Linked DNA regions of Homo sapiens: all the other regions are linked to region 4. The links are contacts of gene promoters, found by promoter capture Hi-C in blood cells and fetal thymus (Javierre and others, 2016). All regions are on one chromosome and are shown on one strand. Each heading gives the region's core, a stretch centred on a gene start or on the middle of the fragment in contact. The rest is flanking DNA. Distances are from core to core; before and after follow the strand shown.

Region 1 (4,170 bases), core at 459-2,958, 240 kb after region 4:
CACCACCATCCTGTTATATGGGCAGAAAGAGGTTTCCTTACTACACAAGGGTCTTCCATCATTAATGCCTCCTCAATAAAAACTCTTCTTAAAGCTGCTGTACTTCCAAGGAAGCTTGTTTCATTCACTGCAAGGGCCATCAAAGGACATCAGATCCCATTGCTCAAGGCAACAATTATGCTGATAAGGGAGTTAAAGAAGCAGCTAGCCTTCCAACTTCTGTCCCTCATGGCCAGTTTTTCTCCTTCTCATCAGTCACTCCCACCTACTCTCCCACTGAAACTTCCACCTATCAATCTCTTCCCAAACAAGACAAATGGTTCTTGGATCAAGGAAAATTCCTCCTTCCACCCTCACAGCCTCATTTCATTCTATCTTCCTTTCGTGACCTCTTCCATGTGGGTTACAAGCCACTAGCCCACCTCTTAGACCCTCTCATTTCCTTTCCATCATGGAAATCTATCCTCAAGGAAATCACTTCTCAGTGTTCCATTTGCTATTCTACCACTCCTCAGGGATTTCTCAGGCCCCCTCCCTTTCCTACACATCAAGCTCAGGGGTTCACCCATGCCCAGGACTGGCAAATTGACTTTATCCACATGCCCTGAGTCAGGAAACTAAAATATTCTTGGTCTGGTAGCCACTTTCACTGGATGGGTAGAGGCCTTTCTCTCAGGCCTGAGAAGGCCAACGTGGTCATCTCCTCCCTTCTGTCAGACATAATTTCTCGATTTAGACTTACTACCTCTATACAGTCTGACAACAGACTGGCCTTCATTAGTCAAGTCACTCAAGCAGTCTCTCAGGCCTTGGGCATTCAATGGAAACTTCATGCCCCCTACCGCCCTCAGTCTTCTGGAAAGGTAGAAAGGAATAATGGTCTTTTAAAAACACACCTCACCAAACTCAGCCTTCAACTTAAAAAGGACTGGACAGTATTTTTACCACCTGCCCTCCTCAAAATTTGAGCCTGTCCTCGGGATGCTACAGGGTACAGTCCATTTGAACTTTTATATGGACATACCTTCTTGCTGGGCCCCAACCTCATTCCAGACACCAGCCCTCTGGGGGACTACCTTCCAGTCCTCCAGCAGGCTAGACAGGAAATTTACCAGGCTGCTAATCTTCTTTTGCCTACTCCAGATTCCCAGCCATATGAGGACACCCTAGCTGGACGATCAGTTCTTAAGAATCTGACCCCTCAAACTCTACAAACTCGGTGGACTGGACCCCACTTAGTCATCTATAGTACTCCAATGGCCATCCATCTGCAGGACCCTGCCCATTGGGTTCACCATTCCAGGATAAAGCTGTGCCCATCGGACAGACAGCCTGATCTCTCCTCTTCCTCCTGGAAGTTGCAAGTACTCACCCCTACTTCCCTTAAACTCACCCGCATTTCTGAAGAACAGTAGTGACACTTGTGAGCCTAATACACCCTTTCATTTTGTTAGGTCTATTCTTCCTTACCCTGATCTTTACAACAGGGCTTCACACAGTCACCCCCACTACTTGGACTGTACCCCAAAACTTTTCATCCCTGCTATCTTCTGTCTAGTCATACTCCTACTCTTCATTCTCACCTACCCATAAATGTCCTGCCCTTGTCTACACTGCCAGTTTACACTTTTTCTCCAAACCATCATAGCTGATATCTCCTGGTCTTAGCCCCTAACCACCACTCTTAACTCCCCCTTGGAGTGGATAGATGACCTTTGCTGGCAAGGCACACTCCAATTCTTTCACCCTGATGAAGTCCTTTTCTTTACTTTTCCTCATTCCCATTCTCCTGCCATCCTCTACCCCTCCCTAATTACCTCCAACATACTATCAATCTCGCTCACTCCCTCCTCACTCTTTCTAATCCCTCCTTAGTGAACAATTGCTGGCTTTGCATTTCCCTTTTTTCCTGCTCTTACACAGCTGTCCCCACCTTACATACCGACTGGGCAACATCTCCTGTCTCCCTACATCTCTGAACCTCCTTTAACAGCCCTCATCTTTACCCTTCTGAAGAACTTCTTTACTTTCTAGACAGGTCTAGCAAAACCTCAGACATTTCATATCAGCAAGCTGATGCTCTTCTCCGCATCTACTTAAAAAATCTTTATCCTTGATTGAAACCATCCTGGCTAACACGGTGAAACTCGTCTCTACTAAAAATACAAAAAATTAGCTGGGCATGGTTGCAGGCACCTGTAGTCCCAGGTACTCAGGAGGCTGAGGCAGGAGAATCACGTGAACCCAGGAGGCAGAGCTTGCAGTGAGCCGAGATCGTGCCACTGCACTCCAGCCTGGGTGACAGAGCAAGACTCTGTCTCAAAAAAAAAAAAAAACCTTTATCCTTATATTAATTCTACTCCACCCATATTTGAACCCCTCACAACATAAACTACTATCCCTGTTGTCACTCCTTTGTGCATCTCTCGGCAAAGACTGACTGGAATTCCCCTAGGTAACATTTCACCTTCTCTATGCTTCTTCACTCTTCATCTCCAAAGCCCAACTACACATATTACCAAAACCAATGGGGCTTTTTAGCTCCACATTATAGATAAGCCCTCTATCAATACTGGCAAACTTAAAAACATTAGCAGTTACTATTATTTAGGAAGACATTTGTCCTGCACTTCACTCCATCCTTGGCTACCTTCCCCTTGTTCTTCAGCCTCTCCTCCCAGCCCCCCTTCTTGTTTACTTATACACAACCCCATGAATAGCAATGAAAGGTTGCTTGTAGACACTATGAGTTTTCTAATACACCATGAATACTGAACCTCTCCCTCTACCCAGTTGCCCTATCAATCCCCATTACAACTTCTAACGGCTGCTGCCCTTGCTGTGAGAGGTGACAACATGCTGGCGGCCCTCACTCACTCTCAGCACCTCCTCAGCCTTGGTGTCCACCTGGCCACACTTGAGGAGAACTTCCACCCACCACTGCACTGTGGGAGCCCCTCTCTGGGCTGGCCAAGGCTGGAGCCGGCTCCCTCTGCTTGCAGGGAGGTGAGGAGGGAGAGGCATGGGTGGGAACCGGGGCTGTGCTCGGCGCTCACGGGCCAGCGCAAGTTCCAGGTGGGCCCTGCACTTGGAGCAGTCGGCTGGCACCACCAGCCCTGGGCAGTGAGGGGCTTAGCACCTGGGCCAGCAGCTGCGGAGAGTGCGCCGTGTCCCCCAGCACTGCCAGCCCACCCATGCCATGCTCGAATTCTTGCCATGCCTCAGCCGCCTCCCCACAGGGCAGGGCTCAGGACCTGCAGCCCACCAGGCCTGAGCCCCCCTGTGGTGGGCTCCCACATGGCCCAAGCTTCCCCAACGGGCGCCACCCCCTGCTCCATGGTGCCCAGTCCCATTGACTGCCCAAGGGCTGTGGAGTGCAGGCATGGCATGGGACTGGCAGGCAGCTCCGCCTGCAGCAGGATCCACTAGGCAAACCAGCTGGGCTCCTGTGTCGGGTGGGGACTTGGAGAACTTTTATGTCTAGCTAGAAGACCGTAAATGCACCAATCAGCACTCTGTGTCTAGCTTAAGGTTTGTAAACGCACCAATCAGTGCTCTGTGTCTAGCTAATCTGGTGGGGCTTGGAGAACCTTTATGTCTAGCTAAAGGATTGTAAATACACCAACCAGCACTCTGTGTCTAGCTCAAGGTTTGTAAATGCACCAGTCAACACCCTGTGTCTAGCTCAAGGTTTGTAAACACACCAATCAGCACTCTGTATCTAGCTAATCTGGTGAGGACTTGGAGAACTTTTATGTCTAGCTAGAGGATTGTAAATGCACGAATCAGCACTCTGTGTCTAGCTCAGGGATTGTAAACGCACCAATCAGTACCCTGTCAAAAAGGACCAATCAGCTCTCTGTAAAATGCACCAATCAGCAGGATGTGGGTGGGGCCAGATAAGGGAATAAAAGCAGGCTACCTGAGCCAGCAGCGGCAACCCGCTCACATCCTCTTCTACACTGTGGAAGCTTTGTTCTTTCACTCTTTGCAATAAATCTTGCTGCTGCTCACTCTTTGGGTCCACACTGCCTTTATGAGCTGTAACACTCACTGTGAAGGTCTGCAGCTTCACTCCTGAGGCCAGCGAGACCACAAACCCACCAGGAGGAATGAACAACTCTGGACAGGAGGAATGAACAACTACAGACTCACAGCCTTAAGAGCTGT
Region 2 (4,347 bases), core at 1,812-4,311, 130 kb before region 4:
TACTGTTCAGTATCATGCTGAAGCATTGTCTGACAGGCCTAGCTAGTTCTTTCCTTCTCAAGGCAATGTTCGTTTGTTTGCTTGAGACCTGGACTCTGTGAAGTTATTGCCAACCCACAGGGAATTAATCAATTGCAAATGATTTTTGTCCAGTCGAGTTGCAAATTACTTCAATTGCTTCTGTTCAGTTAAAAAGATTACCCCTAAATGGCCAGGCGTCATGGCTCATGCCTGTAATCCCAGCACTTTGGGAGGCCAAGGTGGGTGGATCATTTGAGGCCAGGAGTTTGAGACTAGCCTGGCCAATACGGTGAAACCCCATCTCTACTAAAAATACAAAAATTATCTGGGTGTGGTGGCACATATGCCTGTAATCACAGCTACTACGCCTCAGGAGGCTGAGGTGGGAGAATCACTTGAACCCGAGAGGCAGAGGTTACAGTGAGCTGAGATTGCGCCGCTCACTCCAGCCTGGGTGACAGAGTGAGACTGCACCAAAACAAACAAATGAAAAAAAATGAAATAATGTGTTAATAATTTTATATTAAAAATTATATTTCAGAAAAAATATTTACCCCTTTTTTTTTTAGACGGGGTTCGCTTTTGTTACTCAGGCTGGAGTGCAATGGTGCAATCTCGGCTCACTGCAACCTCCACCTCTTGGGTTCAAGCAATTCTCTCGCCTTAGCTTCCCAAGTAGCTGGGATTACAGGCGCCCACAACCACGCACAGCTAATTTTTTTTTTTTTTTTTTTTTGTATTTTTAGCAGAGACAGGGTTTCACCATGTTGGCCAGGCTGGTCTCGAACTCCTGACCTCAGGTGATCCACCTACCTTGGCCTCCCAAAGTGCTGGGATTACAGGCATGAGCCACCGTACCCGGCCAAGCACATTTTGTTGTATATTTGAAGTACTCGAAATTTATTCCTGCAAACCACACAGATTTTTGTACATTTAATTTTAATTTTAAAAGATCTGTCAGTCATTGACAGATGAATGGATAAACAAAATGTGTGTATATACATATAATATAATGAAATATTTTGTGGCTTTAACAAAGAACATTCTCCTGAGCATGGTGCCTCATGCCTATAATCCCAACACTTTGGGAGGCTGAGGCGGGAGGATCACTCAAGGCCAGGAATATGAGACCAGCCCGGCCAACATGGTGAAACCCCATCTCTACTAAAAATACAAAAATTAGCCGGACATGGTGGCGCACACGTGTAATCCCAGCTACTCGGGAGGCTGAGGCAGGAGAATCGCTTGAACCTCGGAGGTGGAAGTTGCATTCCAGCCTGGGCGACAAGAGTGAGGCTTTGTCTCAAAATAATAATATAAAAATAATAATAATAATAAATAGAAAAACAACAAAAAATAAAAAACAAATTAGCTAATTGGGAGACTGATGTGGGAGGATTGCTTGATCTCAGGTCTTTGGGATTGTAATGAGCTATGATTGTGCCACTGCACTCCAGCCTAGGTGACAGAGTAAGACCCTGACAAAAAAGAAGAAAGAAAAAAAAAGAGAGAGGAGAGAGAGAGAGAAAGAACATTCGGACACATATACAGCATACATGAACCTTGGCAATATTTCACTTAAATGAAATAAGTCAGTCACAAAAAGACAAACAGTGTATACTTCCGTCTATGAAGTAGGTACCACAGTCAGAATTATAGAGACAGAAAGTGGTATGGTGGTTCATTAGGGGCTGGGGAGGGTGAATGAGGGATGAGTGTTACGGGACAGAGTTTCAGCTTGGGGAGATGAGAAGATTCTGAATATGGAGGATAGTGATGGCTGCTGTGAATATACTTAATGCCACTGAATAGTACACTTAAAATGGTTAAGATGGTGAACTGTATGTTATGTATATTTTACCATCATTTTAAAAATTGAAAAAAACTTTTTTCTTATTGTTCAGTTCCTCCCAAACTTGCCATCAATGAAATTTTCCCCATCACTCTACCCAGATCGCTGTTTCTAATGTTTTCCATGCCATTAAATGTGATGGATATTCTTCAGCCTTTATTTTGCTTAGCCTTATAGCATCGTTTTACATGGTTGTTAGAAATAAATCTTGGAGTCATAAAGAAAAATGAGCACTCAAACAAAGGATTTCTCAGCAAAGCAAATTTACTTCTGCGCAGAAGGGTGCTTCTCGTAGGGTTGGCTGCTACAAGAGCACCCTGAACAAAGGAGAGTAGCAACTTTTATTCTTAATGCGACTCTTGACTTTGTGTGTCCTTTCCCCATTGGCTGGGGTCGGACAGCACAATCTAAACTAGACTTGATTGGTTACACATTTAAACTGTCTTAGATAAGGTGGGTGTGTGATGGGAGACAGAGGAGAGGAGGAAGGGGTCTTCTACAGAGGAATAGACAGCTAGTCTATTCTTAAATAAGGAAAGAAATGTGAGCTGGGGCTATGGCATATCTGGGCATGCAGCAAAATCAGAAAGAAGAAAAGGAGAAGAAAGTGTGTGGGGGGGGTACTTGGAATTAGAGAATAAGAAGCTGAGCAGGCTGTTTGAAGAGAAATCTTGCTGTATCTCGCAATGGTTGACTCTCCCTCTCTTGAAACAGGACTTACGACATGTCCACAGCCTGTTTAACGCCCTGCAGCCAACGCGATCACAGGGGATTCACGGAAATAGTTGCATCTCTATTTTCTTCTGTGTTACCTTGAGACCCTTAGGCACTGGGATTACAGAGAGATGGGTCTTTGTAGCTTCTGCGACACATTCCAGAGGGGAAAACCTCTTTATCTCAAAGCCAAACCAATAGTGATGAAAGCTCTTCCAAGAATAAAGAGGCCCCAAGAGGGTGGGAGGTGCAGAGAGAGTCACCTGGCTTCAGAGCTGCCTTCTTGGAAACAGAATTAGAACACATCATACCTTTCTGCCATTTGCTCTTGATCCCAAGGGAGCCGAATGGGTTGGAGAGTAGAACATCACTGGAACAGTGGATTTAATGAGGAAGGATGAGACATCAGCTCCCTGGGGCTTGAGAAACCATAAATACTTCCCTAAAACACCTCACCTGGACAGTTTCCTGACGCCACACTCATGCATCTTAGAGAGGAGAGTTAGGATGACTTCATGACAAGTTCCATCTCCCCGCCTTTCCCTGCTAGATTCTGTCTTCAGCATTCAACAGTCAGGGGAGGAAGACGTCATACCAGCATTTTTTTTTTTCAAGCAATGTCAGTTGAGTGACTCACACTATCCTTGTTAGTACCGTGTGTGAAAAGGATTTAAAAAGTAGTGTGGGGAGGAACAGAGATGGAGGTAACAGGGTTGATAATGTCTCATGATTTTTAAAATGTCTCTAGGATTCCCTTACCTGGTTATAGATGTCTTAAGGCATTGCAACTTTTGGGAGGCTGAGGCAGGCGGATCGCTTGAGGCCAGGAGTCTAAGACAAGCCTGGCCAACTTGGTGAAACCCCATCTCATCTAAAAATACAAAAATTAGCTGGGCATGGTGGCGGATGCCTGTAATCCCAGCTACTCGGGAGCCTGAGTCAGGAGAATGGCTTGAACCCGGGAGACAGAGGTTGCCATGAGCCAAGATCACGCCACTGCACTCCAGCCTGGGTGACAGAGTGAGTGAGACGCTGTCTCAAAAAAAAAAAAAGATTCTATTGCAACTGTTTCTGTCACCTCCACCTCTGATGGCCTTTCATTCTGGAAACTAGTGACTTTCTCAATGTCAGTAGGAACTGGCACTTCCTTGAGTGGATTCCTTTCAGTCTACCTGCTAACACCTTCCTTTTTCTTCTCTAGTATAATATAATAGTTCTCGGCCGGGTGCAGTGGCTCATGCCTATAATCCCAGAACTTTAGGAGGCCGAGGCGGGTGGATCACAAGGTCAAGAGATCGAGACCATCCTGGCCAACATGGTGAAACCCTGTCTCTACTAAAAATACAAAATTAGCCGGGCATGGTGGTGTGTGCCTGTAGTCCCAGCCATTTGGGAGGCTGAGGCAGGGGAATTTCTTGAACCTGGGAGGCAGAGGTTGCAGTGAGCTGAGATTGCACCATTGCACTTCAGCCTGGGCAACAAGAACAAAACTCCGTCTAAAAAAAAAAAAATCAACAAAGCAAAGCAAAACAAAACAAGTATGTATTAAATGTTCACTCTGCACCAGATGTTACATATATTATCATTGCAATTGTGAATGGACTTTTTTTCCTCTTATTTTTTCTCATGGCTGTTTGCAGATACATAAGAAAGCTGATGACACTGATTAGTTGTAATTAATTGTGTTTAAGTTGACTTTTTTTTTTTTTGAGACAGGGTCTTTCTGGGCTCAAGCAAACCTCCTGCCTTGGCCTCCCAAG
Region 3 (4,479 bases), core at 1,802-4,301, 210 kb after region 4:
TTCTCTTTTTTGTTTTTTTGAGACAGAGTCTCACTCAGTCGCCCAGACTGGAGTGCAGTGGTGCAAATTGGCACAGTGCAACCTCCGCCTCCCAGGTTCAAGCGATTCTTCTGCCTCAGCCTCCCAAGTAGCTGGGATTACAGGTGCACCATCACACCCAGCTAATTTTTGTATTTTTAGTAGAGATGGGGTTTAACCATATTGGCAAGGATGGTCTCGAACTCCTGACCTCATGATCCACCTGCCTCAGCCTCCCGTGCTGGCATTACAGGCGTGAGCCACCTCGCCCGGCTGGGAGGTGCATTCTTACTGGAAGTCCCTTGCCCTCCCAAAAGCCACCCCATTTCTAAGGAGAATGCCCAGTCCTCTCCCAAGTTCACATGGGGTGGTGATAGCATTGCTTTTGTGTAAATTATATAAAATTTTTTAAATCTTTGCCTTTGTATTTTTAATTTTGAATGATCAGCCATCATGTCCCCCCATTTTTGTCCCCCAACTTGAGATGTATAAAGGCTGTTGGTCTCCCTAGGGGTGGGTGGAGGAATGGAGGCAGCCAGGGCTTACCTGTACACTGACTTGACAGCAGTTGAATGAAAGTGCACACCTTAAAAAAAAAAAAAGGAAAGAAAAGAAATTCCATGTAGACCCATGGTATGACCAATTATCAATGACACTAGAGAGGACTATCTAAAAGCATCTATTAATAATCCCTCATGACAGCCAGGTGAGGTGGCAGAGGTTGCAGTGAGCAGAGGTTGCACCCCTGGACTCCAGCCTGAGTGACAGAGGGAGACTCCATCTCAAAGCAAAACCAAAAAATCCCCAAGTTTTGCAGAATCTGGATTTTATGGAAAAAAAAAGAAAAAACAAAAACAAAAAAACTTATCTTGGCAGTTAAACACACGCTCACTGTTAAATGAACATATAATGCAAATGAGAAAGTGTTTACAACTGCAGTCATGAAGAAAGTGCTAATTTATAAAATGTGCATAACAGAACAAGTAATATATTCAGAAACTCTTTCAAAAACAAATTTAATCACATAAAACCACCACAGAAAACTAAGGGGCCACACGTCTTATCTGAGAATAGGACAAACAGAAAGACAATTTCATCTTCATGTCATTTATTTGAATGTATCCCCAAAATGAATTATCTTATTTGCAACAAGAGTGATACAGAAAGGCTTCCAGAGCTGGGCAGGGTGGGTCATGCCTGTAATCCCAGCACTTTGGGAGGCTGAGGTGGGTGGATCACCTGAGGTTGGGAGTTCGAGACCAGCCTGACCAACATGGAGAAACCCCGCCTCTACTAAAAATACAAAAAAATTAGCCGGGCGTGGTGGCGCATGCCTGTAATCCTACTCAGGAGGCTGAGGCAGGAGAATCGCTTGAACCTGGGAGGTGGAGGTTGCGGTGAGCCAAGATCCCACCATTGCACTCCAAGGCTGGATGCCTGGAGAAACCCAGTGGACACATTCAGCTTTCAGCTTATTCCAATCATGACTGAAGAGGCCCAGCCAGAAAATAAGGGTCCCCTTGAGCCAGCAGCTTAGCTTCAGGTGGAGAAATGCATGATAAAATTATGATAAAGTTTTTCCAAAAGATGTAGCTGCCAATAGGTAAAGCCACAAGGCTGCTAATGTCAGGCTGCTGCACTCATTCCGTTTCCATTTCTATGTGACCAGCGAAGCTTACTGGGACATTCCCTTGCTGGTCACTGAATTCTTTGGAGATGTCAAGCATTCAGTTTCAGAAAGAGATTAGTACTACGTCCCTATCTGATCTTTTTTTTTTTTTTAAGAGGCAGAGTCTTGCTATGTTGCCCCAGGCTGGTTGTGAACTCCTGGGTTCAGGTGATCCTCCTGTCTTGGCCTCCCAAAGTGCGGAGATTACAGGCATGAGCCACTAGGCCCAGCCCCTACCTCACCTTCTTCTTTTTTTTTTTTTTTTTTTTTGAGATGGAGCTTCGCTCGTCGCCCAGGCTGGAGTGCAGTGGCGCAATCTTGGCTCACTGCAACCTCCACCTCCTGGGTTTAAACAACTTTCCTGCCTCAGTGTCCTGAGTAGCTGGGATTACACATCCCCACCATCATGCCTGGCTAATTTTTCTATTTTTAGTAGAGATGGGGTTTTGCCATGTTGGCCAGGCTGGTCTTCAATTCCTGTCTTGGCCTCCCAAGTAGCTGGGATTACTGGCATGCACCACAACACCTGGCTAATTTTGTATTTTTAGTAGAGATGGGGTTTCACCATATTGACCAGGCTGGACTTGAGCTCCTGACCTCCAGTGATCCACCCGCCTTGGCCTCCCAAAGTGCTGGGATTAGAGGTGTGAGCCACCATGCCAGGCCCCCTACCTGACCTTTTAAAGAAGGGACATGCTTGGTGGCTCCGTCAGGCAGATATTATGGCGTGTGAAATATCTAAGGGTTGTATCCCACTTTTCCCCTTCCCATGGCTTCACAGCAATTTACAATGCACAAAAGAAGCCTTATGAATGAACAAAGGTGATTCCACTTGATTTACAAGCAGGTTTCTCTCCACTGAGTTTCTACACCTTCTATAAGGTATGAAGTTTTTAAAAGCCCTGCCACGTTCCTTTTGTTTCTCTTATTTTTCAGTCAACTTTTTCTTGAGACAGGGTCTCATTCTGTTACCCAGGCTGGAGTGCACTGGCACAATCTCGGCTCACTGCAACCTCCACCTCTTGGGCTCAAGTGATCTTCCCACCTCAGCCTCCTCAGTAGCTGGGACTACAGACGCACACTACCATGACCAGCTAATTTTTGTACTTTTGTAGAGATGAGGTTTCACCATGTTGCCCAGGCTGGTCTCGAACTCCTGGGCTCAAGTGATCTGCCCGCTTCAGCCTTCCAGAGTGCTGGGATTACAGGTGTGAGCCACTATGCCCGGCCCACATTCCTTATGATGGGGCTTCAATCCACTCTAAGCTCTTCCATTTTGTGCAAGATCACGTTCTTTGATTTCATACTACAAGAAACCTCTTCTTTGTATTCTTTTTTCTCATGTGAGTTTTATAAGTTCTTTCACCAGATGAGTTCGGATGCTCTAAGGGATAATAAAATGGTTTTTCACATGCCTTAGATTCACTGAAATGGTCTCCTGTGTGATTTCTTACATTTAGCAGACCAAAGATTGAAAAGAGGCCAGGTGTGGTGGCTCATGCCTGTAATCCCAGCACTTTGGGAAGCCAAGGTGGGCAGATCACTTCAGACCATGAGTTCGAGACCACCCTGACCAACATGATGAAACCCCAGCTCTACTAAAAATACAAAAATTAGCTGAGCATGGTGGTACGTGCCTGTAATCCTAGCTACTCCAGAGGCTGAGAGAGGAGAAATGCTTGAACCCAGGAGGCAGAGGTTGCAGTGAGCCAAGATCATGCCATTGTACTCAAGCCTGGGCAACAGAGGGAGACTGTGTCTCACACACACACACACACACACACACACACACACACACACACTACACAGACAGAAAACATTTCATTCCTTACATTCATAAGGTTTCTTTCCATTGTAACTCTGAACATGAATATTAAAGACTATGGAATATCTAAAGGTTTTCTCACATTCTTTACTGTATTATTTTGATAGAGTTGACCAAAAAAAGGAACCCCACACATTGAATGGCTTAAACAACAGAAATTTATTTGCTCATAATTTTTGAGGCTGGAAGTCCAGGATCAAAGTGTAGATAAGGATGATTTCCTCTATAATGAGCCTTAAAAGAAGGATCTCCTCCAGGAATCTCTCTTTGCCTTGAAGGTAACCATTTCCGGTCACTTCACATAAAATTCTGTGCCTGCTACCCTGGTATCTCTTTCACTTCTTATAAGGAAACCAGTCATATTGAATGAGGGCCCCATTCTAACTGCCTCATTTTAAAATCACCTCTTTAAAAAACCACATCTCTAAATACCACCATTATCTTGAGGTCCCAGGGATGAAAGCCTTAATGTTAATGAGTGGATGGGACATGTGACATAATCTAAATCAGTGGTCCCCTAACTTTTTGGCACCAGGGACCAGTTTCGTGGAAGACATTTTTCCCACGGACTGGAGTTGGGGATTAAACTGTTCCAGTTCAGATCATCAGGCATTAGATTCTCATAAGGAGTGTGCAACCTAGATCCCTTGCATGTGCAGTTCACAATAAAGTTCATGCTCCTATGAGAATCTAATGCCACTGCTGATCTGACAGAAAGTTGAGCTCAGGCAGTAATGTTTGCTCATCCTACATTCACCTCCTGCTGTGCACCCTGGATCCTAGCAGGCCACAGACCAGTACCAGTCCATGGCCCAGGGGTTTGGGGATCCCTGACCTAGGCCATTCCACTTATTATAGTCATCAAGTTATTCTCCAGCATACATTGCATATGAATATTAAAGCTTGTGGAACATAAAAGGGTTTTCCCACAATCCTTGAATTCATAGTTTCTCTCCAGTTTGTGTTC
Region 4 (4,159 bases), core at 368-2,867:
CCATCTGCCTTAGCTTCCCACCAGCTGGGACTACAGATATGCGCCACTGCAGCCAGCAACAGACTCAGCAATTTTAAGAGCAACAGGGCATAAACAACAACAACAAAAAAAAAATGAACAAGAATTAATCATAATTACAGATATCATAAGGAGAATATAGAAAAAATTTAAGGAATAAATATGAAGATGCACAGGTAATTAATGAATTTCTAGAAAGTAGTACAACTTTCAAGCAGTGATCTAAAACCTGATTACACCCAGTAATTAAAGAAAAAAAAATCAGCGGTTTAAAACACGGTCAGGCCGGGTGCAGTGGCTCATGCCTGTAATTCCAGCACTTTGGGAGGCGGAGAGCCCATGAGTTCGAGACCTGCCCGGGCAACAGAGCGAGACTCCTATTTTCTAAAAAGAAATAGGAATAAAGAAAGGAAAAAAACCTACAAACACCTACAGCAAACATCCTATTTAATGGTGAAATGATAGAATAATTCCCTCTGGAATCAGAAACAAGACAGGATGTAAATTACATGCTATTCTGTCGGACATTGTACTGGAGGTCCTGGCAAGTGCAGTAAAGAAATGAAAAGAAATGGAAACTGCAAGGAATAAAAAGGGAAAAGATTGAAACTGACAGATGACCAAATTTTCTGTGTGAAATTTAACCAATCTATAGACAAATGATTCAAATGCATCATTAATGACAAAATGCATCAGTTCACTTTCACTTGAATATAATGTATCAAACTGATGTCCACAGGCAGAATATAATATCCAGAGACCAAATACTATCTTTTTGTTTTTTTGAGACAGTGTCTCGCTCTGTTGCCCAGGCTGGAGTGCAGTGATGCGATCTCAGCTCACTGCAACCTCTGCCTCCCGAGTAGCTGGGAACACAGGAGAGCACCTTTTATTTTACTTTTTTTTTTTTTTTTTTTTTTGGTAGAGACGGGATCTTGCTATGTTGCCCAGGCTGGCCTCAAACTCCTGGGCTCAAGCGATCCGCCCGCCTCGGCCGCCCAAAGTGCTGGGATTACAGGCGTGAACCACCGCGCTTGGCCCAAACACTACCTAATGCATAAAGAGGGGACAGGAGGGGACCGAGCCGAGGCAAATGTCACCCCGTGCTCACCCGACACGCCGCGATCCACAGATCAGCTCACAGAGAACGAGGCTGAAGCGCTTGTCCTTGAGACACGAATGGCAGAGATGCTCTTCCTTTCTGGAAAGAGAGCAAAGGATGCTTTCGGAGGCTGATGAACTACGACATTGGTTCTCCAACTCTCGCCTGCATCAGAATCACCCCGATTTCTGTACCCAGACCAGAGTTCCCGATTCAGTGAGTTTGGGACCAGCCGCGGCCACAGGGGCAGCTGACCCGGGCTCTCTGAGGAGGCGCCGCGGCGGCGGGAGGCCCCGGGCGCGGGGTCCGGACAAGGAGTGGCGGGGAGGCAGCCCTTAGACCGCCGATTCCCAAACCCAGCCCTCGGTCTCCCGCGGACCCGACCCGGGGCAGGCAGGGCGGGGCGGGGCAGGGCAGGACAGGAAGCGGGCGGAGGCAAAAATGTTCCTCAGACGCGGGCGGAGGCGTAGGGTGACAAGGCTGTCGACTCGCGCATGCGCAGAAGCACACTTCTGATTCCTCTTTCGGCGCTGCAAATGGCGTATGGGGCGGGGCCTGGGAAGCGGGACTTGAGGTGAAGGGGGTGGAGCAGGTAGGAGCGGGATGCAAAGGAGCGCCAAGGCTGGTTCCAGCCGCAAGTGGATGAGAAATCCTAGTTTCTTCATGATTTGGAGTAAACAGAGAAGAAACAGAACCCTGAACTGGACTTGCATGACTCGGCCTGAGGGGCGGAACTGGGGCTAGACCTAGGGGCGTGGCCTTTTAAATACTCCAAGGGGCGGGGCTAAAGGTGGAACCAGATTGGGAGCGGGGCTTGGTAGAAATTCCTAGGGGGCGGAGACGAGGGCTGGGCGGGGCTTAAGTGACAAGGCCTAGGGATGGGGCTAAGGCTAGGGCTTCCCATCCAGGTTCTCAGCTACCACGGATACAGGATGCTCATCGATCGGGTTTCTACCTATCCTCCACGTTGCTACAGTCCTGTACACAGGACACATATATTTGCAGCTCTAATAGGAAACAGACTCTCCTTGACACTCACTCAGTCCTTTTGGGCCTTTTAGTTTTCCCTTTCATTGTTGTATTGATAACTTCTCCTGTAGAGGGAAGCCATTGATAATTATTTAAATAGAACCTTTTTCCTGGAAACTTGCTGAATTCTGATAGCTGTCAGTTTATTATTTGAACCATCAAATATAAATATTTTCTCTGCATATTTTCATTGTTTTAATGTGTATAACTCATTTCTTTATGTGAGGCAATGTCTCATTCTATCGCCTAGACTGGAGTGCAGTGGCGCGACCATGGCTCACTGCAGCCTTGACTTCCCCAGCTCAAGTGATGGTCCCATCTCAGCCCCCCAAGTAGCTGAGAATACAGTCGCGTACCACCCCACCCAGCTATTTTCTTTATTTTTTTGTAGAGATGGGATCGCACTATGTTGCTGAAGCTGGTCTCAAACTCCTGAGCTCAAGCTATCCTCTCACCTCAGCCTCCCAGAGTGCTAGGGGTACAGGTGTAAGCCACCACACCCAGAGTCATTTCTTTTTCTTATTGTTTGTTTAGGGCTTCCTCAACTATAAGTCGGAAAGAAATTAAGCATTCTTGTCTTGGTCGGTAATGATTACCAAAGTTCCTCAGTAAGCTGTTTACAACAGGTTGCACCTCTTATCAAGTTAATCTTTTTAAACCAGGTTTATAAAGATATTTTATCAATAATTTTTTATGAACACTATCAAATGTTTATGCAACAATTGAGTTGATAACATAATTTTGCTCCTCTTAGTTTATAATATGATATCCATATAAAATATTTAATTTTAGGCAAGGCGCAGTGGCTCATGCCTGTAATCCCAGCACTTTGGGAGGCCGAGGCCGGTGGATTACCTGAGGTCAGGTGTTCAAGACCAGCCTGGCTACCATGGTGAAACCCCATCTCTACTAAAAATACAAAAAATTAGCTGGGCATGGTGGCGGGTGCCTGTAATCCCAGCTACTCAGGAGGCTGAGGCAAGGAGAATCGCTTGAACCTGGGAGGCAGAGGTTGCAGTGAGCTGAGATCGCGCCATTGCACTCCAGCCTGGGCGACAATAGAAAGACTCCATCTCAAAAATATATATATTCAATTTTATATATCCCCAATGAATCTATACTTTTAGTAAAATGGTTTCTGAGTTTCCTAGTTTGCTTTTAAATGTCTCCCCAAACTCTAAAATATAAAAATACTTCCTAATTTACTTCCAAATTGTACTGCTTTTTAAAACGTATAATTCTTTACTGCTCAGGGAATGTATTTTGGTATAATATGAGGTAGAGATGTGTTATATAAGTGAACCACAGGTGGCCTTTCTGTATTGGTCCCTAGGTTGTTCATTACTTCTTCACTGCGGCTTGAGGTCACCTTCCCAATGCCTGTCCCTGGTGCCCTAGCCAGCTCCCTTTCATCATCTATGTTTTTTAAGTGTAAATCTTTTTCTATTATGAAGCATTATGTTCTCATTGTAGTTTTTTATTTTAAAGGAAAAGTATAAGGAAAAGACAAACAACATTCAGAATCCCAGCAGTGTTTGAATTTTCTGTATTTCCTTTCTGCCTTCTTTGTACGCGTGGGTGGCAAGCCACCCAGGTGCCAAGGCAAGAGACCGAGGGCACAAGCTGTTCCAGTATAATAAAGAAAATATATAGAATAAGAGTAGTTATACTAGAAATAGATTATAGATATGATTGTATATATCATTAATCATTTGTAGCATTACTCTTTATTCCAATATTATAATAATCTTTGTTCTACAATCATAACCTAGGAAAAACCAGGCCATACAGAGATAGGAGCTGAAGGGACATGGTGAGAAGTGACCAGAAGACAAGGGTGAGCCCTCTGTTATGCCTGGACAGAGCCACCAGAGGGCTCCCTGGTCTAGCGGTAATGCCAGCCCCTGGGAAGGAGCCCGTTACCTAGCGGACCTTGGTCTAGCAGTAGCGTCAGTGCCTGGGGAAGGCACCCATTGCTTAGCAGACAGGGAAAGGGAGTCTCCCTTTCCC
Region 5 (4,115 bases), core at 939-3,438, 170 kb after region 4:
TATAAGTTTCTCTGAACTGGGTCCAGTAAAATCCACTCCTCCTGGGTGAAGTCCACAGCTGTATCCTCAAAGGTCACGGAGTACTAAACCATCACATACATGTTGATTTGAGCCAAGTAACAGATTAACCAGTGTTCACTGAAGAATCAGTTAACAGACCCCAATGCCTATAAAGAGTTGTGAGGTCTCTCATTATCTACCCAAAGCTTAATAATCCCAGGTAAATCTCAGGTATTCCTCTCTCTATCCTTGCTCTTTCACTACTTAACAATTCCAGTTGTATGGCTTTAATGGCACATCTCAATCATGAACTTCTCATCACAAGCAGACTGTGAGTGCTTTCTCAACTTATTTCCCTCTACTAAAAGATATCCCAGAGTACACTGCATCATATACTTGATAAACAGCGATGAATGATTAGCCTTTTTTTTTGGGAAGCAGGGTCTTGCTCTGTCACGTAGGCTGGACTGCAGTGGTGTGATCATGGCTCACTGCAGCCTTGACTTACTGGGCTCAAGTGATCGTCCTGCCTCAGCCTCCTGAGTAGCTAGGACTACAGCCATGCACCACCATGCCTGGCATTTTTTTTTTTTTTTTTTTTTTTTGTGGAGACAATGTCTCAGTATGTTGCCCAGGCTGGTCTCAAATTCCTAAGATCAAGCGATAATGCCACTCACTTCTCAGCCTCCCAAAGTGCTGAGATTACAAGTGTGAGCCACTGCACCTGGCCAGGATTAGCCTTTGAGTAAAGGATGCTTTCATCTTCCTTTCCATCTGCCAGACCACTCAGCAAAATAAGAAATATATATCTGGCACCATAAGGGACAAAATTAATTAACAATTACTGAAATGCTGAAATGCTTTTCAAGGATTATCAGTATGAGAACCTCCACTCCCTGGGGAAATTCAACAAGTGACTCAGTGCTTGAGTGAGTCTTTATTTACTTAAAGAAGCTCTGGAGACACATCTGCCTAGAAGGAAATGTGTTTACCTGGTGATGCAAGTATGTCATTTTGTGGAAGTATACATTTTCTGCATACCTGATAACAATTTGTCAGGCAGTAAGCCATCTTCCTTTCTGCCTCTGTCTTTTCTTCATGAAGGCAGATTGGGTTCCTAGAAAGACCTGGAAAAGAAAGAAGGCATAAGAGCCCAGACATAATCACAGTTCCAACATTCGCATGCATGGAAGTTATTCCAACCTGGTTCGAAATTCTCTTATAATTCATATAAACTCACATAAATATACATTACATCCATAAAATGCCACTGCACTTCTGTCTAACCTAGAGCAAGAAAAAGGAATTGTGGGCCAAGCTGTCGTAAGTAAAAGTATAATATCCTCATTGCACAGGTAAAGAAACTTTTTTTTTTTTTTTTGGAGATGGAGTTTCACTCTGTTGCCCAGGCTGGAGTGCAGTGGCACGATCTCGGCTCACTGCAAGCTCTGCCTCCTGGGTTCACGCCATTCTCCTGCCTCAGCCTCCTAAGTAGCTGGGACTACAGGCACCTGCCACCACGCCCGGCTAATTTTTTGTAGTTTTAGTAGAGATGGGGTTTCACCGTGTTACCCAGGATGTTCTCCATCTCCTGACCTCATGATCCGCCCAACTTGGCCTCCCAAAGTGCTGGGATTACAGGCATGAGCCACTGCACCTAGCCAGGTAAAGAAACTTAAGACCTGAGGAATGTAAGTCTTTTTGTGCCCATGGTGATATAACTCACAAATGAGATTATGCAGCACCTCTTCTCAAAGAACACACTTAAGGGGGCTAACTTACACAACAGGCCTCTCTGGCACACTTCAACAACTCAGAAAGGAACTACTAGTGTGAATACTAAGGCCTAGAGCCCTGGACTATATATTCTGCATGGGGTACTGATATGGTGTGGCTCTGTGTCCCCACCCAAATCTCATCTTGAATTGTGATAATCCCCACATGTCAAGGGCAGAACCAGATGGAGGTGATTGGATCATGGGGGCAGCTTCCCCCATGCTGTTTTCGTGATAATGAGTGAGTCTCACAAGATCTGATGGTGGGTTTTTTTTTGTTTGTTTTTGTTTTTGAAACAGAGTCTTGCTCTGTCACCCAGGCTGGAGTGCAATGGCGAGATCTTGGCTCACTGCAACCTCTGCCTCCCGGGTTCAAGCAATTCTCTTGCCTCAGCCTCCTGAGTAGCTGGGATTACAGGCACGTGCCACCAGACCTGGCTAACTTTTGTATTTTTAGTAGAGACAGGGTTCCACCAGTTGGTCAGGCTGGTCTCGAACTCCTGACCTTGTGATCCACCTGCCTTGGCCTCCCAAAGTGCTGGGATTACAGATGTGAGCCACCGCGCCCGGCCAATCTGATGGTTTTATAAGTATGTGGCATTTCCCCGGCTTGCACCCAATCTCTCTCCTGCCACCCTGTGAAGAGGTGTCTTCTGCCATTGATGCCACCCTGTGAAGAGGTGCCTTCTGCCATTGATGTTAAGTTTCCTGAGGCCTCCCCAGTCATGTGGAACTGTGAGTTAATTAAACCTCTTTTCTTTATAATTATCCAGTCTTATGTATTTTTTCATAGCAGTGAGAACAGACTAATATGGTTACCTAAAGCAGATTTTTGGAAAAACTTACCATAGGGCAAATCCTGTGAGGCTGACAGTGAAATATGTCTGGACACAGTTTTTTGTGATTCCAAGGACATATCAGGGTAGCTTATAAATCTAAGTGGATAACTGGCAATCTATTCCTCTTTATATAGAGTATCTGGACTCATGTAGACATCAATCATTAATCAACAAGCGTTACTTATCAGTCATCAAATACCATATATTAAATCTTTACTGCTGGTGATATGTGTAAAACCCACTAGAAATAGTATATGTTCTGTATAAAATGAGTATTAATAACACCAACTGCCATTTACTAGGGACTGTTATATGTTAGACATTACATATATATACACATACATATGTGCATATACATATATACATATATATATGCTCACTTATCTGAACAATATCCCTATTTAGTGCTGAAAAAAATCTAAATTCAGAAAACACAAATGACTCTTCTAATATCATCTACTTAGGAAGCGGTGAACCAGGACTTGAATGCAGTCAAGTTTGTCCCTAAGTCTAATCCTCTGTGGTTGTTATTACTCCCCCATAATGACTGCCATATAAAGGACTCTGGGAATTGATACCTGGCTTACTTAAAATGTGCTATTCTACTTTTGACTATAAAGAATTAGAACAAGAATGTCATCCTTTACAAACAAGTCAGAACTCATTTCCAACTCTGGTTGCTTCAACAGGGTTCCAAGTAGAACACTGAAGTTAGCGTTCAGAGTTCTGCCCATTGCTCCTGCAAGAGGACAAAAAACATGCAGAGCAGCAATCGCAAATCAGACTCTGCCCCTTATATTGACTATTTGATGGGTCTTCTCAGAAAATCACCTTTTATTATTATTCATGAGTTCTCTTTTTCCTAAAATTTCTGCTTGTATTTTTATCCCTTCCTTCCTTTATGGTTCTTACAAATCAAATGAAAAACGCAATTGAGATCATCAACAGTAGAGAAGGAAAAGAAAAAAATCTTTGAACTTGAAAACAGACTACTTAGAAATACACAAAGGAGAAAAAACAAAAATGAAGAAAAATTACAAGATTCAAGGGACATCATCAAAAGAGCAAATTTTTGAGTTACAGGAGTACAAGAAGACAAGAAAGAAAGAGAACACATACTTAAAGAAACAATAACAACATTTCCACACTGAGGAAAATATATAAATATCCATACTCAGGAAGGGCAAACATCTCCAATCACATTCAATCCAAACAAGGCTACCCTAAGATATAATATAATCAAACAGTCAAAAATGAAAAGCAAAGTGAAGATCTTGGAAGCAGCATGAAAAAAGATGCAAATCACATATGAACGAGTTCCAATAAGGTTATGAGCAGACCTGTCACCAAAGACCTTACAGGCCAGGAGAGAATGGGATGACATATATAAACTGCTGTCAGGAAAAACAAACAAACAAAAAAACTGCTCACAAAGAATACCATACCCAGCAAAGCTGTCCTTCAGGAATGAAAAAGAGATGAAGATTTTCAAAGAAAAACA
Region 6 (4,192 bases), core at 679-3,178, 140 kb after region 4:
AGCTGGGATTACAGGCATGTACTGCCACGCCCAGCTGATTTTTGTATTTTTAGTAGAGACGGGGTTTGACCATGTTGGCCAGGATGGTCTCGATCTCTTGACCTCGTGGTCCACTCGCCTCGGCCTCCCAAAGTGCAGGGATTAAAGGCATGAGCCACTGCACTCAGCTGATTTTTTTTTTTAATCTGGACAATTACCCAGTTGGGTTCAGCTTGCAAGTTTTAGTCAACGCTCTGAGTTGTGGTTTCAATGAGAGCTTTATTTTCAAAGATTTTGTTGTATGCTTTGTGTCTCTACCTGGAGGCTAGACTACACAGAAGGTCATCTATCTCACATTCCAGCTCTCAAAGTCTATGGTATGTCTCATTGCCACCACAGGATTGCTTGGAGGCTGGAACCAAGTAAATGGAGAAAACAAACTGAGGTATTAATCTCCCTCTCTTTCTCACTGAGCATTAGAAACCACCCCTCCCACCCCCTTGTTGATATTACCAGAACCAGAGGGCTTCTTCTGGAACTCTCCATGTTGGTCATGATGTGTGCCTCTGGTTTTTCAGCCACACTGAGTACAGACCAGATGAAACCAGAAGGGGTAAAACTAGTAAACTTACTGCCTGCTTGGTGGTACTTTGAACGCTGATTTTTTTTTCCATCTCCCTGCTGCTATTTACTTTTCAGATTCTTCAAATAGCTGATGCATTCTGTCCAGGTGGGACATTCAGTGGGACAGACAGGATAACTGCATTTACTCCACCTTTCCCTAAACCAGAACCAATTTTGCCAAGTCATACACACACACACACACACACACACACACACACACACACACACATAAAATATAGGATGCATTCTCTTGTTACTTCTGGTTTCTTTCACAACATCATGTTTGTGAGATTCATCCACGTTAGGGGGTTTACCTGTATAGTAGGCAGAATTCTGAGATGGTGCTTATGAGTCCTGCACTCTGGTATGCCTTGGTATAATCCCCTCCTGTTGAGTGTTGGTAGGATAAACAGTTTCCTCCTAATCAAGAAAATATAGCAAAAGTGATGCAATGTCAGTCAACTGTATTACATTATGTGGCAACAATGAAGGAATTTTCCAGATACAATTCAAGTCCCTATTCAGTCGATTACACATTACACAAAGCGAATAATCTCCTAGAATATTCCTAGGAGAACTTGATTTACTTATAGTATAGAGATATCTAGAGATATTCACCTGACAAAATTAGATGAGTCCCTTCAAAGGGGATTTGGATATCAGTGACTAAAAAATAGCAGACAGCTGGATGCCATGGCTCACACTTGCACTTTGGGAGGCCGAGGTGGGCAGATCACAAGGTCAGGAGTTCGAGACCAGCCTGGCCAATATGGTGAAACCCCATCTCTAGATAAAAATACAAAAATTAGCTGGGCATGGTGGCGCGTGCCTATAGTCCCAGCTACTCGAGAGGCTGAGGCAGGAGAATCGCTTGAACCTGGGAGGCGGAGGTTGCAGTGGGCCAAGATCACGCCACTGCATTCCAGCCAGGGCAACAGAGCGAGACTCCGTCACAAAAAAAAAAAAAAAAAAAATAGACATACTCTCTGTTGCTGGCATTGACAAAATAAGCTGTAAGGAATTCTACAGCCATAACAAAATTAATTCTACCAACAATCTGACACAGATTAGAAGCACATTCTTCTATATTTTAGCCCCAACCCTCTCCAGATGAGAAGGAAACTGTAAGAATTCTGCCACCATGAAAAAGCTGAATGTTGTGACACCACCAAAGGGTCACTCTCACTCTACAGCAATGGTCCCTTTCCAAAATGGAGGCACAGAGATGACAGGTGGAGAATTCAAAGCTTGGCCTACAGGGAAGCTCAGCTAGATCCAAGACAAGATTGAAAATCAACACAAACATAAAGCAATCAACAAAATAAGAAATAAACATCTTAAGAAGTAATTAATCAAAGCTACAGGAACTGAAAACCTCACTTAAGGAATTTTAAAATAAAATTGAAAGCTTCATCAACAGACTACACCAAGCAGAAGAATTTCAGAGCTTGAAGACTGGTCTTTCAACTAACCCAGTCAGACAAACACAAAGAAAAAAATGTAAGGAACAAAGTCCCCAAGAAATATGGGATGATGTAAAGTGATCAAATTTACAAATAACTGGCATTCCAGGGAGAGAAAGAGAAAAAGTAAGCAACCTGGAAACCATACTTGAGAGAATAATTTAAGAAAATTTCCCTAATTGTGCTAGAGAGGTAGCCATCCATATGTAAGAAATCCAGACAACACCTGCCAGATACTACATAAAATGAACACCACGAAGACATACAGTCACCAGCCTAAGGTCAACGCTAGAGAAAAAAGCTTAAAGGCAGCTAGAGGAAATGGCACATCAGGTACAAAGGGAATCTCGTCATCAGGCTAATAGCAGACTCCTCAGGAGAAACCCTACAAGCCAGAAAAGACTGGGGGCCTATTTTCATCATTCTTGAAGAGGAAACTCAAACCAAGAATTTCAAACCTGACCAAACTAAGCTTCATAAGAGTAGAATAAACATTTCTAGAGACAAGCAATCACTAAGGGATTTCATTACCAGTAGACCAGCCTTACAATAAATCCTTAATGGAGTTTTTGTGTGTGCGTGTGGCGGGGGGTTTGTTTGTTTGTTTTTCAGACATTTCACTCTTGTTGCCCAGGCTGGAGTGCAATGACACGATCTTGGCTCATGGTAACCTCTGCCTCCTGGGTTCAAGTGATTCTCCTGCCTCAGCCTCCGGAGTAGCTGGGATTACAGGCATGCACCACCATGCCTGGCTTTTTTTTTTTTTTTTTTTTAGTGGAGACAGGGTTTCTCCATGTTGGTCAGGCTGGTCTTGAACTCCTGACCTGAGGTGTCCACCCTCCTCAGCCTCCCAAAGTGCTGAGATTACAAGCATGAGCCACCTCACTTGGCCCCTTAACGGAGTTCTAAACATGAAGACGAAAGAATGATACCTGCTACCACAAAACAACCAAACCTAAGTACGCAGCCCACAGACCTTTTGAAGCAAAAACAAAATAGAAACTATAAAACAACCACCTAACAGCTTCATAATAGGATCAGATCCTCACATATCAATATTAGCCTTGAATGTAAATGGTCTTACCACCCCATTTAAAAGGGACAGAGTGGCAATCTGGATAAAAACGACAAGTACTATCCTTCTGAGACCTATCTCACACATATGAGACACCCATGGACTCAAAAAGTGGGAGAAAGAGCTATCATGCAAATGCAAAACAAAAAAGAGCACGGATCATTATTCTTTTGTTGGATAAAATAGACTTTAAACCAACAACAGGAAAAAAGGACAAAGAGCACTATATAATGATAAAGGGTTCAATCCAACAAGATGACTTAACCTTCAACATTGGAGCATTCGCATTCATAAAACAAGTACTTCTAGACCTACAAACAGACAGCCAAACAAGAATAGTGGCAGACTTCAACACCCCACTGGCAGTGTTAGATCACTGAGGCAGAAAACTAACAAATTCTGGACTTCAATTTGAAACTTCACCAATTGGACTTAATAGATATCCACAGAACATTCTACCCATCAACCACAAAATACATATTCTTCTCGTCTGCACACAGAACACTCAAAGACCACATTCTCAGCCATAAAGCAAGTCTCAATAAATTCATTCAAAATTTGAAAATCATACCAACCATACTCTCAGACCACAGTGAAATAGAAATAAAAATAAAGATCAATACCAAGATCTGTCAAAATCACACAATTACATGGAAATTGAACAACTTGCTTCTGAATGACTTTTGGGTAAACAGCTAAATTAAGGTGGAAATTTAAAAATTCTTTGAAATTAATGAAGGCAAAAAAACAAGATACCAAAATCTCTGGGATGCAGCTAAAGCAGGGTTAAGAGAAATGTTTAGAGTGCTAAAACACCTACAGCAAAAACTTAGAAAGTCAGCACCATATGAAGTGAAAAAAACAAAAAAGGAACATACCTCAAAATAATAGAGCCATCTATGACATAGCTGCAGCCAACATCATACTAAATGGGCAAAAGCTGGAAGCACCCCACTTAAGAACTGAAAAGGCTGGGCACAGTGGCTCATGCCTGTAATCCCAGCACTTTGGAAAGTCAAGGTGGGTGGATCACCTGAGGTGAGGAGTTCGA

The links. The method cuts DNA at HindIII sites, captures the fragments that hold promoters and counts their contacts. A CHiCAGO score of 5 or more calls a contact.
Region 1: a fragment that was not itself captured here is called in contact with the fragment with the promoter of ZNF699 in region 4 in 1 of 17 cell types (total CD8 T cells); the score reaches 5.1 in total CD8 T cells.
Region 2: a contact is called between the fragment with the promoter of OR7D2 here and the fragment with the promoter of ZNF699 in region 4, in 2 of 17 cell types (neutrophils and M0 macrophages). The highest score is 6.8, in neutrophils.
Region 3: a contact is called between a fragment that was not itself captured here and the fragment with the promoter of ZNF699 in region 4, in 8 of 17 cell types (non-activated CD4 T cells, naive CD8 T cells, activated CD4 T cells and 5 more). The highest score is 6.5, in non-activated CD4 T cells.
Region 5: a contact is called between a fragment that was not itself captured here and the fragment with the promoter of ZNF699 in region 4, in 1 of 17 cell types (activated CD4 T cells). The highest score is 5.7, in activated CD4 T cells.
Region 6: a fragment that was not itself captured here is called in contact with the fragment with the promoter of ZNF699 in region 4 in 4 of 17 cell types (activated CD4 T cells, non-activated CD4 T cells, naive CD8 T cells and 1 more); the score reaches 6.1 in activated CD4 T cells.

Annotation. Positions count from the first base shown.
Region 1 is chr19:9,544,808-9,548,977 of GRCh38, forward strand. No RefSeq gene overlaps it. Among named protein-coding and RNA genes, the nearest start is that of ZNF426-DT, 8.2 kb to the left of the region's middle. The HindIII fragment of the contact is 3,193 bases long and covers 113-3,305 here.
Region 2 is chr19:9,175,918-9,180,264 of GRCh38, forward strand. OR7D2 (olfactory receptor family 7 subfamily D member 2) reads left to right here and starts at 3,062. Exons shown (of 3, transcript NM_175883.4): 1 at 3,062-3,206. The HindIII fragment of the contact is 28,883 bases long and covers 1-4,347 here.
Region 3 is chr19:9,519,571-9,524,049 of GRCh38, forward strand. It overlaps ZNF426 (zinc finger protein 426), which reads right to left. Exons shown (of 8, transcript NM_024106.3): 8 at 3,653-4,479. It overlaps LOC105372268 (a long non-coding RNA gene), which reads right to left and starts at 1,270. Exons shown (of 3, transcript XR_001753862.2): 1 at 565-1,270. The HindIII fragment of the contact is 2,722 bases long and covers 1,691-4,412 here.
Region 4 is chr19:9,308,221-9,312,379 of GRCh38, forward strand. ZNF699 (zinc finger protein 699) reads right to left here and starts at 1,618. Exons shown (of 6, transcript NM_198535.3): 1 at 1,130-1,618. RefSeq lists silencers at 1,288-1,537, 3,893-4,159 and an enhancer at 1,598-1,717. The HindIII fragment of the contact is 15,955 bases long and covers 1-4,159 here.
Region 5 is chr19:9,474,243-9,478,357 of GRCh38, forward strand. It overlaps ZNF560 (zinc finger protein 560), which reads right to left. Exons shown (of 10, transcript NM_152476.3): 3 at 1,042-1,127; 4 at 1-83. The coding sequence starts at 1,071. Among named protein-coding and RNA genes, the nearest start is that of ZNF560, 22 kb to the right of the region's middle. The HindIII fragment of the contact is 3,969 bases long and covers 205-4,115 here.
Region 6 is chr19:9,445,577-9,449,768 of GRCh38, forward strand. The region is part of intron 1 of LOC105372269 (a long non-coding RNA gene); the gene reads left to right. It also overlaps a transcript of ZNF560 not described here. Among named protein-coding and RNA genes, the nearest start is that of ZNF266, 12 kb to the left of the region's middle. The HindIII fragment of the contact is 161 bases long and covers 1,849-2,009 here.